Linked DNA regions of Homo sapiens: region 1 is linked to region 2. Evidence: promoter capture Hi-C in 16 types of primary human blood cells and fetal thymus (Javierre and others, 2016). All regions are on one chromosome and are shown on one strand. Each heading gives the region's core, a stretch centred on a gene start or on the middle of the fragment in contact. The rest is flanking DNA. Distances are from core to core; before and after follow the strand shown. Region 1 holds the start of PCDHGB4 (protocadherin gamma subfamily B, 4). Region 2 has its middle 7.3 kb from the start of PCDHB2.

Region 1 (6,785 bases), core at 2,661-5,160, 300 kb before region 2:
TGAAATCTGAAAACTTTATATTTTCCTGTGAATATATTTTCTTATGCATATGGAAAACTGGGTAGACAATGGAAACCATACCAGTTAAATTAGTGAAAGAAAATATTTTCTCTACTGAAAACAGAAAAATTAGCCAGGTCTGGTGGCATGAGCCTGAGTTCCAGCTAGTCAGGAGGCTGATGCAGAAGGAATGCTTGAGCCCAGGAGTTTGAGGCTGGAGGGAGCTATCATTGTGCCACTGCACTACAGCCTGAGTAACAGACAGAGACTCTGTCTCAAAAAAAAAAAAAGAAAAAAAAAAGAATCGAAAGACGTTTCCTTCTTTCAGCAATTTGTAAAGTGGCCATTAACTGAAGCAGTTGCTTAGATATACCTAGCAAAAGGCTCATATAATGTTCCTTGGTATTTTGTATATATTTTGTATGCACACCAGATTGGCAGTTTTCAAGACTATATTTCTTTCCTAGAGGTAGGAGAATGATTAGAAGACCTCTAGCTATATTAGTTTAGGGCTGCAGATAAGGCAGTTACACATTATATATTAGGGCTGTGTGTGAGAGGGACAACAGACACAAAACATTGTCTTTTCTTTGATGAAGGATATAGAATGAGCTTGAATACAGATTAATCCTGAAACTCCTATGTTACAAGTAAGGAGAATCTGCTTTTGATCTTCTAATGAGCATAGTAGACCTTTTTCTAAGTAAAAGGATCTCTCTCACACACACACACACACACACGCACACACAGCGTACACTGCATATAATCACAAGGGGTCCATGGACATAAAAATCCAGTTGACTCCTTATTCTAAGAGCTTTTGAAACAAAAGGGAAGTTAACACAGGAAACAAAACAGTGGACTACTATGGAGACCATACCAGTTAAATTAGTTAAGAAAAGTGTTGAATTTTAGCTTAAATTCTTTGGCTTTATTATTTTTATATTTATGGTATATCCAAGCTGAAAAAAGTATTCATCATATATTAGTCAACAAGAAGGAAAATGTATAGGAAAAATCTCATTCACTTTTTAGGAGAGAGCCAACAACTGTCTAACACTTTCACTTTGTGGTTAAAACCACACCCTCATTGCTTTATAAATCTAAGCTTGGCTAAAAAACAAACAAATGTTGGGCCACACAATTGCTCCTACTTTACTCCTCCTTTGTAGAATGATATGACAGCTTTTTAACTGACTACAACTTTCCTAAAATGATCCATGACATCTAAAAATTATATATTTTCCTGCAAATATGTATATTTTCTTGTGAATATGGAGAAATGGGTAGGCAATGAGCATTAAATTATACTTAAAGGAAACTCACCTGATGGGAAGTCAATTCACTGGAATTACAAAGTGGAAATAAGGCCCCAGATGAATCACCGCAAAGTATGTCTTGTCCTGAACTCAACTGCTCACTACATTTTAGGAAATTAAACTCCGTCTTTCCTGTATGTGCAACACATAGATTGTAGGAATAAGGCAAAGTCCCCTCGCTGTAGTTGGGGGGAACCACGGATTCGGATTTAACACAGAGACCAGGCTGGAAGCAGCTCCAGGAGGCGGGGCTGGAGGAGCGTCGCAGGCGCAAGGCAATGGCCAGAATCATGGCCACGAGGAAGAGCACTGAGATCAAGGCCAAGGCCACCACTAGGTAAAACTGCAGCTCAGCCTGGAGGTCAGAGGGGTCGGGGCGGTCAGTGATATCCGGCAGCACCTCCTGCAAGCTGTCGGCGAAGACCAGGTGCAACGTGGCAGTGGCCGAGAGTGGTGGCTGTCCACCGTCACGCACGGCGACCAGAAGGCGCTGGCGGACGGCGTCCCTGTCGCCTAAGGCACGCGCTGTGCGCACTTCGCCCGTGCGCAGCCCCAGGCTGAAGAGCCCGGGCTCGCTAGCCTGCAGCACGTGGTAGGACAGCCAGGCGTTGTGTCCTGAGTCTGCGTCCACCGCCACTACCTTGGTCACCAAGTAGCCAGGCTCTGCAGCGTGCGGCACCATATCGAAGAGCGCAGAGCCGTCGGGACCCAGCGCGGGGTACAGCACCCGTGGCGCATTGTCGTTGCGGTCGTCCACTAACACGCGCAGGCTCACGTTCGCGCTGAGCGCTGGCGAGCCCTGGTCGCGGGCCTGCAGTGTGAGTTCGAAGGCGCGCAGCTGCTCGTGGTCGAAGGCGCGCTGCGCGAACACCACCCCGCTCTCCGCGCTTATGGACACGTAGGATGACAGCTCCCGCTGCTCCAGGTCACTGGCCATGATGCAGTAAGAGACTTGGCCGTTGGGCCCCAAGTCCGGATCAGAAGCCCTGACTTGTGAAATAGAGGCTCCAGGCGGGTTGTTCTCGGCCACGTGGACTATATAGGAAGACTGTGAGAAAACCGGAGCGTTGTCATTTACATCACCAATGTGCAGGGTGATGCTGGAACTGGAGGAGAGGGGAGGCTTGCCCCGATCTGTTGCCGTAACGGTTATATTGTACTCTGGATTCTGCTCGCGGTCTAGAACAGCATCTGTCACTAATTTATACGTGTTTCTTGAAGAAGTTAATATTTTAAATGGAACATCACCTTCCAATTTACAAGTCACTTCTCCATTGTGTCTGGAATCCTTGTCACGGACTTTGAGCAAAGCAATATGTGTTCCCAGCTCGGCGTCCTCCATAATTAGGTTGGGTAGAGACTGGAATATCACTTCTGGGGCGTTGTCATTTTCATCTATGACTTCTACCTCCACTGTGCATTGCGCAATCATTCCTCCACCGTCCCTTGCTTCCAAAACTATGGAATATTCTTTGACTTCTTCAAAATCTAATGTATTTAAAACAGTAATTTCCCCGGTGTTAGAGTTCAGGTCAAATTGGGTGATCTGGCTAGCTTCACTGAAAGAGAAAGTAATCTCGGCATTGACACCCTCATCCTGGTCCGTGGCAGTCACCTGTAGCACCGTGGTCCCCGGGTACACGTTTTCTGAAAGGCTCACCCTGTATACGTCTTGACTGAACACTGGAGCATTATCATTGGCATCAGTCACTAGAACGTGTATCTGTGCAGTGCTGCTTAGGGGTGGAGCTCCAAAGTCCAAGGCAGTCAAAGTCAAGTGGTAGGATTTCTGCTTTTCTCTGTCCAAAGGTGTCTTCAATACCATCTCAGGGTATTTACTGCCATCTGATTTCTCTTTATTTATCAGTGAGAAATGATCACTGGGACTGAGTTGGTAATTCTGCAGTGTGTTGCTACCAATATCCGCATCATGGGCAGATCCTAATATAAATCGTGTGCCAGGCTGTGCAGACTCACTTATTTGCAGCTCAAAGGAATTTTGCGTGAATTTTGGCGTGTGGTCATTAATGTCCTCGATCTCCACATTCACGTGATAAAAGTTCAGTGGATTTTCAGCAACAGCCTCAAATTCCAGAGCACAAGCTGGCTTCTTCCCGCATATCTCCTCCCTGTCTAGCCTGCTGCTCACAAGCAACTCCCCGCTCTCTGCGCTCACGGTGAAGTAAGGCTTCTCCGAACTGACGCGCAGTTTTCGAGTCGGTAACTCCTGGACGCTGAACCCCAGGTCCGTGGCGAGGTTCCCCACTACGGAGCCCTTGGGCATTTCCTCGGGAATCCTGTAGCGGATCTGCTCACAGAGCGCCGGGCAGAACAAAGACAGCAGGAAGAGAAAGAGCACTGGCAGCCTCTCAGCCCGGCCCAGCTCCCCGGCGCCGCTCCCCATCCCTCTTGCTCTCCTCAGCTTGCTCACCAGCCTGGAGACGCCGGGTTACAAATAACCTCTGTATTGCAGATTTTTGGATCTCCGAACGGACTTTAGTTGCAGTTCCAGTTCAAGAAAAAATTCTTCTTTTTCCGAGGAGGAAGCGGTGTAAAGGCTGGCGCTGGGGAGTCTGAGCTGGGGCTGCCCTGGAAAGCGCGCTGCGGCTGCGCGAGGAGATCTGGAGCGCCAAGCTCTCCACTTTGGCCAACAGCGGCGCCCAGAGTCAGCACTAGGAAACTACAGCCTCTGCTGCTTCAAGTTAACCAGTGCAATAATTATAATTGTGTGCCTAACTGAAAGAACAAAAACTACGTGGATACGTCTGTATATTTAATGACGTCTAAAAATGTACTCTTAGGAATGCCTTCATCCCAACTTTGAGGATTTTTAGGCAAATCATGTAGATTAAGTACATAAACATTTATTGACATAAGCTTTCCCCAATCTTCAAACATGCACTATCTATATAAAGATAGCCATAACACAGACTTGGCCTAAACCGTCTCAGAGTACAGTAATTTTCCATACTTACTCATTAGAAATATACTGGATACATTTTATCTTTCTTTCATTGTTCCTAACATTTTCTCCACTTTTCTAAGTACCTCCAAGTTGATTTATTTCAACTTTTTCCGGAGAGTATCAGTAATACCAAAATTGCCTTTTAGAAGGTGCAATTTATACTTATCTTCAAATACACCCCCTTCCCAATAGTTTCAGTGATTTCATTACAGGAATATTATGTGATTCTCATTTCGATGATCACAGGCAGTAGCCTACTCCTCTCCTCATTACACAATTATTTTACTGGTTATGAAATACAACATTCATCTTCAAAGTTATCAGGGGGATAATACATAGCCTCAAAACACAAAGTCACTGAGATCTGCTGCACTGAAGCACTGCTTCCTACCTCTGCACTTATTTTACATTCCTTGGTGACCTCTGAATTGAAGGAAACAATCCCTGGAAAGTTTGATTGCAATAGCTCACTGAGTTTAGTGATTATGTCTCTCCATTGCTTAAAAACAATTTTATGCATCTAATAAATTTTGGTCAGGAGATTTTCTTTTACAAAATACCTTATAACCGTAGTTCTGCCATAGGATCTTCCCTCAGTAACATTGTTGGTGTCAGCAACATTGTCTTCTACCCCAAGTGATTGTACATCTGAAATGTGAACACTGCAGAACTTGTAAAATGTATCCAGCCTGGGTGACAGAGCGAGACTCCATGTCAAAAAAAAAAAATGTATCCCCCACACTATTGTACAGAGTCTATCATGTGCAAAATACTACCAAATACAACACTAGTCTAAAAAGAGTCTTTTTTTGAAGAGACAGAGTCTTGTTATATTATCTAGGTGGGCCTCCAATTCTTGGGTTCAAGCTGTCCTCTTGCCTCAGCCTCCCATGCAGGTGGGCTACAGCTTGCAACACCATACCTGGCTAAAAGTGTGTTTTTAATTAATACTCAAAGGTCTCTGGAATCAAGATTACCTTGTCATCCACCCCTTCTGGATGACAATCACTTGATATACTGAGCTTTACTAAAATGTTATACAAAAGAATATGGAAGTAGTTAATCCCAGATTGGGTTATTTCCAACTGAATTTTTCAGTAGACCTAATAAATAAAATCAACTACTGGTCTAGGATCTGTGTACATAAGATGGTCTAAGGTTTGAGTACGTGAGACAGTTGAAACAAAGCCAGTATCCCCAATCTCCCACTTTGATAGCCCACAGACACACTTCATCTGGCTGTACCACTAAAACAACATACTGGAATTCTCTGTTAAAACATGTAATTGCCTATGTCACAAATGCCAATTACAACACTTAAAATGACATTTTATTTGACATATTTTATTGGTTTTGTCCGATGGCCTTTAGTGTGGCATTAGACTTGATGTCTGTCTTTGATATAGATCTTAGTGAAGTGTGATACACACACATTTCATTCTTTAGGCATAAATCCAACCTTCTACTACCACCCCATTAATAAATGATTATACTGTAAATAGGTCAAGAAGCAATCAAGATTTTTTAGGACCACCAAGCTGAGGTACATGGAGGCAGAATCAGCCACAGAAAAAAATCTTCACATGGAAGAAATCTTTCAGAACCTTTTACATATTTGAATGCTAAAGAGAATCCTGAGAAGACAGCTGAGGTGTGTTTTATTCCTGCTAACCTTGTGCAATATGAAAGACTCGATTCATTCCAATGTATAAAATATATGAGTTAAGAAAGTAGGTTGGAACATAGATTGGAAAGTAGGTGGAAATTATAAAATGTGATAGTCCACATATTCATAATCTTGTCCATAGGCTTTCACTAAAGAAATACTATATCCTATGTGTTCTATATTAAAGTGTCACCACTGAAGGAAACTGGTAAACTCATTTTTACCTCTATAAAGTTTTTTAAATCCCTATTTTCAAAACATTTGTTTTGCAAAATAATAGAGAAATATCATGCAAATAAATTCCTCATGGAAATAAAGGAAGGGCTGGGCTCACCTGAATACTTGGCAGGTTTTCTTTACATTCCTGAAAATCTACGGATGTTAGCAAAGAATCATTTTTCTCACAGCTCTCCTGGCTGATGAGCATGTCTACATAGTTGGGCTGGGGGAAGATCAGGTGACTCTTCCGAGAGTCCGCGGTGAGGGAGACCTCATGGGAATAGGTCTGCAGGAAAGCCTGCACCCCGTCCATGCCCACAAAGTGCGAGGTGGGCACGTTCGCCAAGCCACCTTCTGAAGCCTGCAGCAGGCGTGACTTGTGCCAGCGCCGCAGCCTGAGCGCCAGCAGTACGAGGACGAAGGCTAGGAAGACGCAGGAGACTGTGGCCACCGCCACCACCAGGTACAACGTGAGGTCATAGTTGTAAGGACCGTCGGAGGGCTCAAGGCTGCCCAGGTCGGCCAAGACTTCGGGGATGCTGTCAGCCACAGCCACGGTGAGTGTGACGGTGGCTGACAGAGGAGGCTGACCGTGGTCCTGGACGGCCACCACGAG
Region 2 (7,022 bases), core at 3,388-5,887:
GATTCTGCAGAAAATATAAGAGAAATATTCTAGGACAAGAAGGGAGTGTTCTGGCATAGTTTATTACCCTAATCTAGTGTGAAAATTGGGGGCATATTCAACTAATTTACTTTTACCTTATTGAGGATACAAATAAGTTTCCCCATAATCTATCAAGACATACATTTCATGAAGCTCAAGCAAACAAGATTTCAAAATAAAGGTCGGCTACACGTGGTGGCTCACACCTGTAATCCCAGCACTTTGGGAGTCCAAGATGGGTGGATTGCTTGAGTCCAGGAGTTTTGAAGACCAGCCTGCAATGTGGCAAAGCCCCATGTCTACCAAAAAAAAAAAAAAAAAATCAGCCAGGTGTGGTGGCTCACGCCCATAGTCCCAGCTACATAGGGGGCTGGGGTGTTAGCGTCACTTGTGCCCTGGAGGCAGAGGTTGCAGTAAGCCGAGATCACACCACTGCACTCCAGCTTGGGAGACAGAGCGACACCCTGTCTCAAACAACAACAACAACAACAAACAAACAAGCAAATGAAACAAGAAATAAATATAACTCAAAAAGGGGAAATGGTGTTGTTTATTCTCTTCCCACAGTACAAATAAGCAAGAAAAGGTTTTTAAAATGATACCTGCACAAGAATCTTGCCCAATTTTGTTTAAGGAGAACCATCAGAGTCTATTAGGACAATCTGTCCCCTTGAAAATAAAAATCTTGACCAGGACTGCAGATAAAGCTAGATAGACAGATATAGATGGAAATAGAGATGAGAGAGACAGAGGTATGACCTCTTCCAAAAATCTCAGACTTTTTTTTATGATTAAAATAGGTTAAAACTTAAATCAGGTTTAGGTAATCTGGTAGATGATTGAATTTTCACTAAGATCACTATTGAAATTTTACTTTAAAAGAAAATATGGACTGGGTGCTGTGGCTTATGCCTGTAATCCCAGCACTTTGGGAGGCCAAGGCAGGTGGATCACGAGGTCAGGAGATCGAGACCATCCTAGCTAACACGGTGAAACCCTGTCTCTACTAAAAATACAAAAAATTAGCTGGGCATGGTGGCAGGCGCCTGGAGTCCCAGCTACTCGGGAGGCTGAGGCAGGAGAATGGCGTGAACCCGGGAGGCAGAGCTTGCAGTGAGCTGAGATGGCGCCACTGCACTCCAGCCTGGGCAACAGAGCGAGACTCCATCTCAAAAAAAAAAAAAAAGAAAAGAAAATAATATGGCTAAATACAATATCGAAAATTAGTAAATAATGAAGAAATCCAAAGGTGTAGAGAGGGCAAAGAATACGGGGTGAGGGGAAGAAACCTGAAACTCTGACTACAAAATACAAAGCATAAATAATCAATTTAGATATGCTAAAGAAATATAAGGAAATACTTGAAAATTATAACATATTTTCATATCACAGTAATTATTTGAACATCTACTGTGTAAAGAAGCAGGCCAACAAGAAAACAAAGGAATACTAAAACCATAGTATATGCTAAGTGAGGAATCTAAGTGACAGACCCCATATTCCTGAGGTCTGTCAAGATGTAGCCAGTAGAGCTGAAAGAAACAGCTGACCAGCAGCAGTTGTTGTCTGAATCTGGAATACATAGGTGGCATCTCAGTGTCCTTGACCATAACCTGAAGTCTATGATTGGCTAGATTACCATCACTCACAAACCTAGTGTGCACACTTCCCAGTGTTGGGCTAACACGCTATACAGATGGAGACTCAAGTCTTTGAGTAACTGATAGGACATGAAGACCTTCCAGACCTAGTCTCCTTCTACTGCCACCACCTTGAACATCACATAATCCGTTCTGCATTAAATATAACACAAAGGAGAATTGCCATTGCCATCAAATATTACCAACCACACCAACACCATGCTGCTAGCTCATGGTAGTAGTAGTGTCTGTTTCTCTCATACAGAACTTGACTCTTATGGGCCTTACAAACAGATTCTTTGTGTCCACTGTCATGGAGTACTGCACATCCTGGGAAACCAGAAGCAAATAAGTTACTTGGGTGTTTTTCTAAGTCTCTGTTTATGGCAGTGTGCTGCTAAAATGCACACTCTAGGGCTGTGTTTTCATACTTGATAAGTGCAGAGGCAGTTTGGTGAAAATGAAGACCTGGTTATATTGTTTCCTTTCAGCTTACAGTAACTCCAGATCTCTGGCAGTAATCATAGAATTGTACTTGTCTTTAATCTACCTCTATTGAAGGCTTTAGGGTGAAGGGAAGGTGGTATTATGAAGCCCAAATATCTATTTTTTTTTCTGTGATCTGGATCTGAAACACAGGAAACAGCAGATATGGTCTTAAAGCAGATATGGCTCCTTGGGACCTAGTTCATAAATGATGACATGATGATTAGGAGTGGACTGTCTTTTACAGCAAGAAGTTACATTTTCTAGAGTCTTTAATTATTGATGATCTCAGAATCCACACTGTAGATTAGTATAGCCTTGGAATTTACGGGTTTGAGTGATGGGTTTGCTTTTGGTACTTTTATACCAATGTAAATGCTTTATTAAAGTTTTCATTAAGTCTTCAGTAGCCCGGTAAAACCTTAAAGATAGTTTTATATTATACCTTGTATCCAAATTCCTGATAGAAAAGTGATAGCCAGGGAGGAAAAACTTTTTTTCTGGGATTACTGTACTGAACTACTATATATTACAGCTGAGTAAAATCACTGATAACCCACAACTTTGGTGAAGACCAATGCAGATTTGGATCTATGTGGGGACCCACCATCCAATATCATGATAGTTAAATTAACCTCAACCCATTTCTTTCCACTGAGAAAATTGCCCATCCTCATTCAGGATATTTTCTGCCACCATTCTCTAAGCAAACAGAAGAGAAGACATGGGAATTAGGATTCAAAATATACTTATGAATACTGCTCTGTCTACATGTTCTGCCATCTATATGGTCTCTACAAGATGCTCTCCTTGATTTTTTGCAGCATTCCTAGATCCAGTAATACACACTAGTGAATGGCTATATCTGTGAGTCCAAGGCACCTTGTAAAAATGTAACTCATTTTTCCAAGTTACCTTTCTCAAGGCAAATGAGTAACTCAAATGAGTTACATTTTTCCAAGGTGCTTTGAGACTCACAGATGGATCCAATTTCTATTTAGTACCCACTCCTGAGTCTTTTGATTTGAAAATGCAGTTTTTTAAATCTATAGAAACATGAATTACCCTCTCGCTCCCCATACCTCTCAAGTTCCCCATCCTAAGGCCCAAAATCTCTGCAAAATTAGCAATGAAGGAACCACTCTCCAGCACCTCTGGAACAGAATTCTGCAGTTCAGTATCCTGAATGGTACATGCTTAGTAAAACAGAATCACACTTTGTTTTAGACTGGGCTTTAAGTATTACATTATTCCTTCTTCTAACACCTTCCAGCAAATATGGTCCTACACAAACTCTGATCACCCTAATGTTTCTATTACTTATGCCACCAGAATCTTAGACATCCAATACAACTTTCACAGACAGGGTAATATAATATGAAACATACAGCACTGTATTTGCAATCTGCTTTAACCACCATTTGAGCCTGCAGTGCCATTATAGGACCGCCCCCCACCCCCCGTCAGTGCATTAAACTCTCTAGAAAGAAAAAAAGTATTTGAGAAAGGCAAATGAAAACACCAAACACTTTGTATTTATGTAATTATTATCCAGTGTATTGAATAATGTCTGTTTTCATTTTATCAGCAACTATCATAAATATATTAAATATCAACAAATAGGTCTTATTTGAGGCATATTCTGTTGTATCTTCTTTAATTTTCCTAAGCCATACAGGAGAGTATTAAACACTGACATAAAGAAAAAAAAGATAAGATTGTTTTGTCGGTCTGTTTTACATGACATTTAATGTACTGGATATGCTATGATATTAATTGCCAAAGAATTAATCATTTTTGATGTTTAATAAGGAAACAGTAAAAATTAACAAACACAAATTTAACATTGACATAAATAAGCTACACAGCAACTCAGTTGATTTACGTCTTAAATAACGAAAAAGACATTTATTTCTACAGTTTTTTTTCTTGTAGTTGTATATCTCCATTTGATTTCGTGGTCATCAATATCACCAAAATCATCAAATGACTATTTCAAATAAAAAGTTAAAACCATATATTAATAATAGTAATCAAGTAAATAGTTACTTAAACTAAGTAAATGGAGACCAGTCCTGCTGAAAAGTAGACTATCACAACTTGTCAGCCATCATTTACGAAATATCAAGAAAAGCAAAAGATGACTTTAAAATAAATAGCTTGACCTTCTTTGAGAAGTTACGAAGACTATCATTTTATGGATTGAAGTGGGATGAATTTCCTTGTCAAGCTTCAGAATATCTGCTAGGACAGTCTACTCAAAGTTTTAGGGGTAATTTACCTTTGAGAAAGATCAAAGGAAACTAGGCATGAGCAGAAAAAAATGCGTTCCTTTTCTGTGCTTAACAATAAAGAGGAAATACACTACTAGATTCTAAATAGACCTTTGTGAAATAGATAAAAAGATAAAAATAGCTAAGCCATCAATATCTGTTAACTGTTAATGAACAATTAGCTATGCTTCAGAAAAAAAACACGATGGAAATTAGAGCCATAAAATAACCAAAACATTCAGAACGGTGCTGTTATTCCTCTACCTTTTATCCAGAATCCAAAAGGAAGAACGCCAAGGATGATAGCTGTCTCTACCTACTGTCTTGTTTTGAGCTTCCTGGAACCTAATTTCATTGGAAATACAGTGATGTTGCGTGTAGCTCTCTTTTCTGGTTTGCATTATTAGGTTGTCAGATTATGGAATATTTTAAATATCCAATGAAAAGAAAACTCTGGTAGGAAGGATCAAAGCTTTTTCTTGTTTTGTTTTGTTTTTGTTGTTGTTGTTGTTTTATCTCAGGGTGCTGAGATTATGGTTCTTAAACAGATGAAGTCTTCCCAGAAGTGCTCCAGGATGAGGCAGATAAGTGTCAACATGACCAATTCTATGTGATTGTCATCCAATGGCATGGTCTTCCACCGTCCTTCACATGAAGAAACAATTTCTGAAACTATTTCTGCTTGTAATTGCCTGAGTATTTGCCACGTGGCACTGAAATTTCCTGGTAATTCTCTTGCAGTGGATGCTTATGATGCATGGGGTATCAGTGGTATTTAAAATGTTCTGCTAGCATTTAAAATGCTCTCCAGAGGTTGCAGAATTCAGTGAGCCTGGAGAATTCTGAGAGCCGATTCATAATTATTTACTCAGACTAAATCTTCAGCCGGTTGCTGTGAGACCTGCATCTCAAAGATTGTCATTGATTGTCATGACTTGGACTTAGGAGGTCTCAGATATCTACCATTCTTCTCTGGGAGAGTTAAACTTACCTTGGGCTGTGGTTCATCCAGCGATTTTTTTCACGCGTATGGACAAATTACTTACCCCAATATTGCACAGCACATTATTGTGAACATGGAAATTGAAAATGAGTGTGTAGTTTCCAATGATGGAAAATTTACCCAAACCTCATACATGTTCCTGGTGCACATTCTGGAACATTCAGAAGAATTTTTCAAAGGAGGAAACGGTTACACCTCAGACACAGATTTTTCTCAAAAGACAAATTTTTTTTTTTTTTAAATACAGGTAATTCTTGGAAATGCAGGGCTCCTATAGGTCCGATTTTCTACTTGAGAGCAAGGACTCTTCTGTGGGTCGATCTGAAATATTATTTGGTCTCTTTGGAAACTATCCTGCTCCAGTCTGTCCTCCCGCCGCTCCCCTTTCCGCCGCCAGCGCCAATCTCCAGAAACCCTGACCATAAAAAAGCAGTTTTCCTTTTCCTGGGCCGCCTGCGCTACACCCGGGAAGAAAATGAAAACCCACCACCTGCGTTTTCTGCCAGATTTTTTTCTCGCACAATTTCCTGTATATCCTCTGAGTGCATTGCCTTTAGTAAATGAAGTCTTCGGAAATCCTGTAAGACTTCCAAACATTTGTGTAGTCCCCATTCGTTTGAAGAAAGCTCTAAAATCTGAGCTCGCTGCGGACGTTTTCCAACTCGTATCTGTTCCCAGCACCTTTCAGATTTTGTCTTTTCTAAGATGGAGTCTGCAGGCAAATGCAGGGCTCCTCCTCCTCCTACTTTTTAGCCTGTAGTGCCACCAGGCGTCCGAACTGAAAACCTGGGCTGTACAGCGCTTTCCTGCGGAAACTGTCAAAATCTGTTCATATTCACATCTAGGGGCGGAATTCTCACCTCTTGAGTTTTAATTACTTCTCCAATATTTAGTTTACTTAATGTGAACAAAAACAATGGTTGTTTATTATCATAATATCAGCTGTGAGATTTCCTTTGAGAGGAACCGAATTGGATTTCTTTCATTTCAATCAAGCCAGTCATTTGGCCATAAATTCATTGAACTGATTAATTCTTCGCAGGTATTTTTTACACACAGATTATATTCAAGCACTGTAAAAGACATTGGGGATATAAAGTTGAGTAAAGTCTGGTGCCTACACCGCAGGAGGTTAGAATATTAAAAAGGTGACTCGGTGATTTGCATAGGCACTATCAGGTACTAAAAAGGGATATTTAAGAACAGAAGTGAGGTATCAGGAAGAGTCTCAGAGGAGGTGAGGTTTAAGCTAAGTTTAATTTTATGGTACCAACTTAAACACAAACCCATTGAAATGATTTTCTACTGCAGATGAAGTATTTCTGATTTTGCAGGAAATAAGATTTTTCTCGAATGATGTGAATGAACATCGTGGCCCATAGCGGGGTTGCAGTCTTTCAGTCAGTCAACATCACAGAGCCCTGTATGAAGTGTCAAGGGATGACAACTAAAAGACTAGGGATAGGGCCGGGCGTGGTGGCTCACGCCTGTAATCCCAGCACTTTGGGAGGCCAAGGCGGACAGATCACTTGAGGTCAGGAGTTCGAAACCAGCCTGGCCCACATGGTGAAACCCCGTCTCTACTAAAAATACAAAACA

The links. The method cuts DNA at HindIII sites, captures the fragments that hold promoters and counts their contacts. A CHiCAGO score of 5 or more calls a contact.
Region 1: the fragment with the promoter of PCDHGB4 here is called in contact with a fragment that was not itself captured in region 2 in 1 of 17 cell types (endothelial precursors); the score reaches 6.1 in endothelial precursors.

What each region holds. Positions count from the first base shown.
Region 1 is chr5:141,384,823-141,391,607 of GRCh38, reverse strand. PCDHGB4 (protocadherin gamma subfamily B, 4) reads right to left here and starts at 3,910. Exons shown (of 4, transcript NM_003736.4): 1 at 1,327-3,910. The coding sequence starts at 3,723. All of the region lies in intron 1 of PCDHGA1 (protocadherin gamma subfamily A, 1), which reads right to left. All of the region lies in intron 1 of PCDHGA2 (protocadherin gamma subfamily A, 2), which reads right to left. The region is part of intron 1 of PCDHGA3 (protocadherin gamma subfamily A, 3); the gene reads right to left. It also overlaps PCDHGB1, PCDHGA4, PCDHGB2, PCDHGA5, PCDHGB3 and PCDHGA6, and 2 more genes. The HindIII fragment of the contact is 3,088 bases long and covers 1,111-4,198 here.
Region 2 is chr5:141,083,758-141,090,779 of GRCh38, reverse strand. It overlaps PCDHB@. Among named protein-coding and RNA genes, the nearest start is that of PCDHB2, 7.3 kb to the left of the region's middle. The HindIII fragment of the contact is 515 bases long and covers 4,380-4,894 here.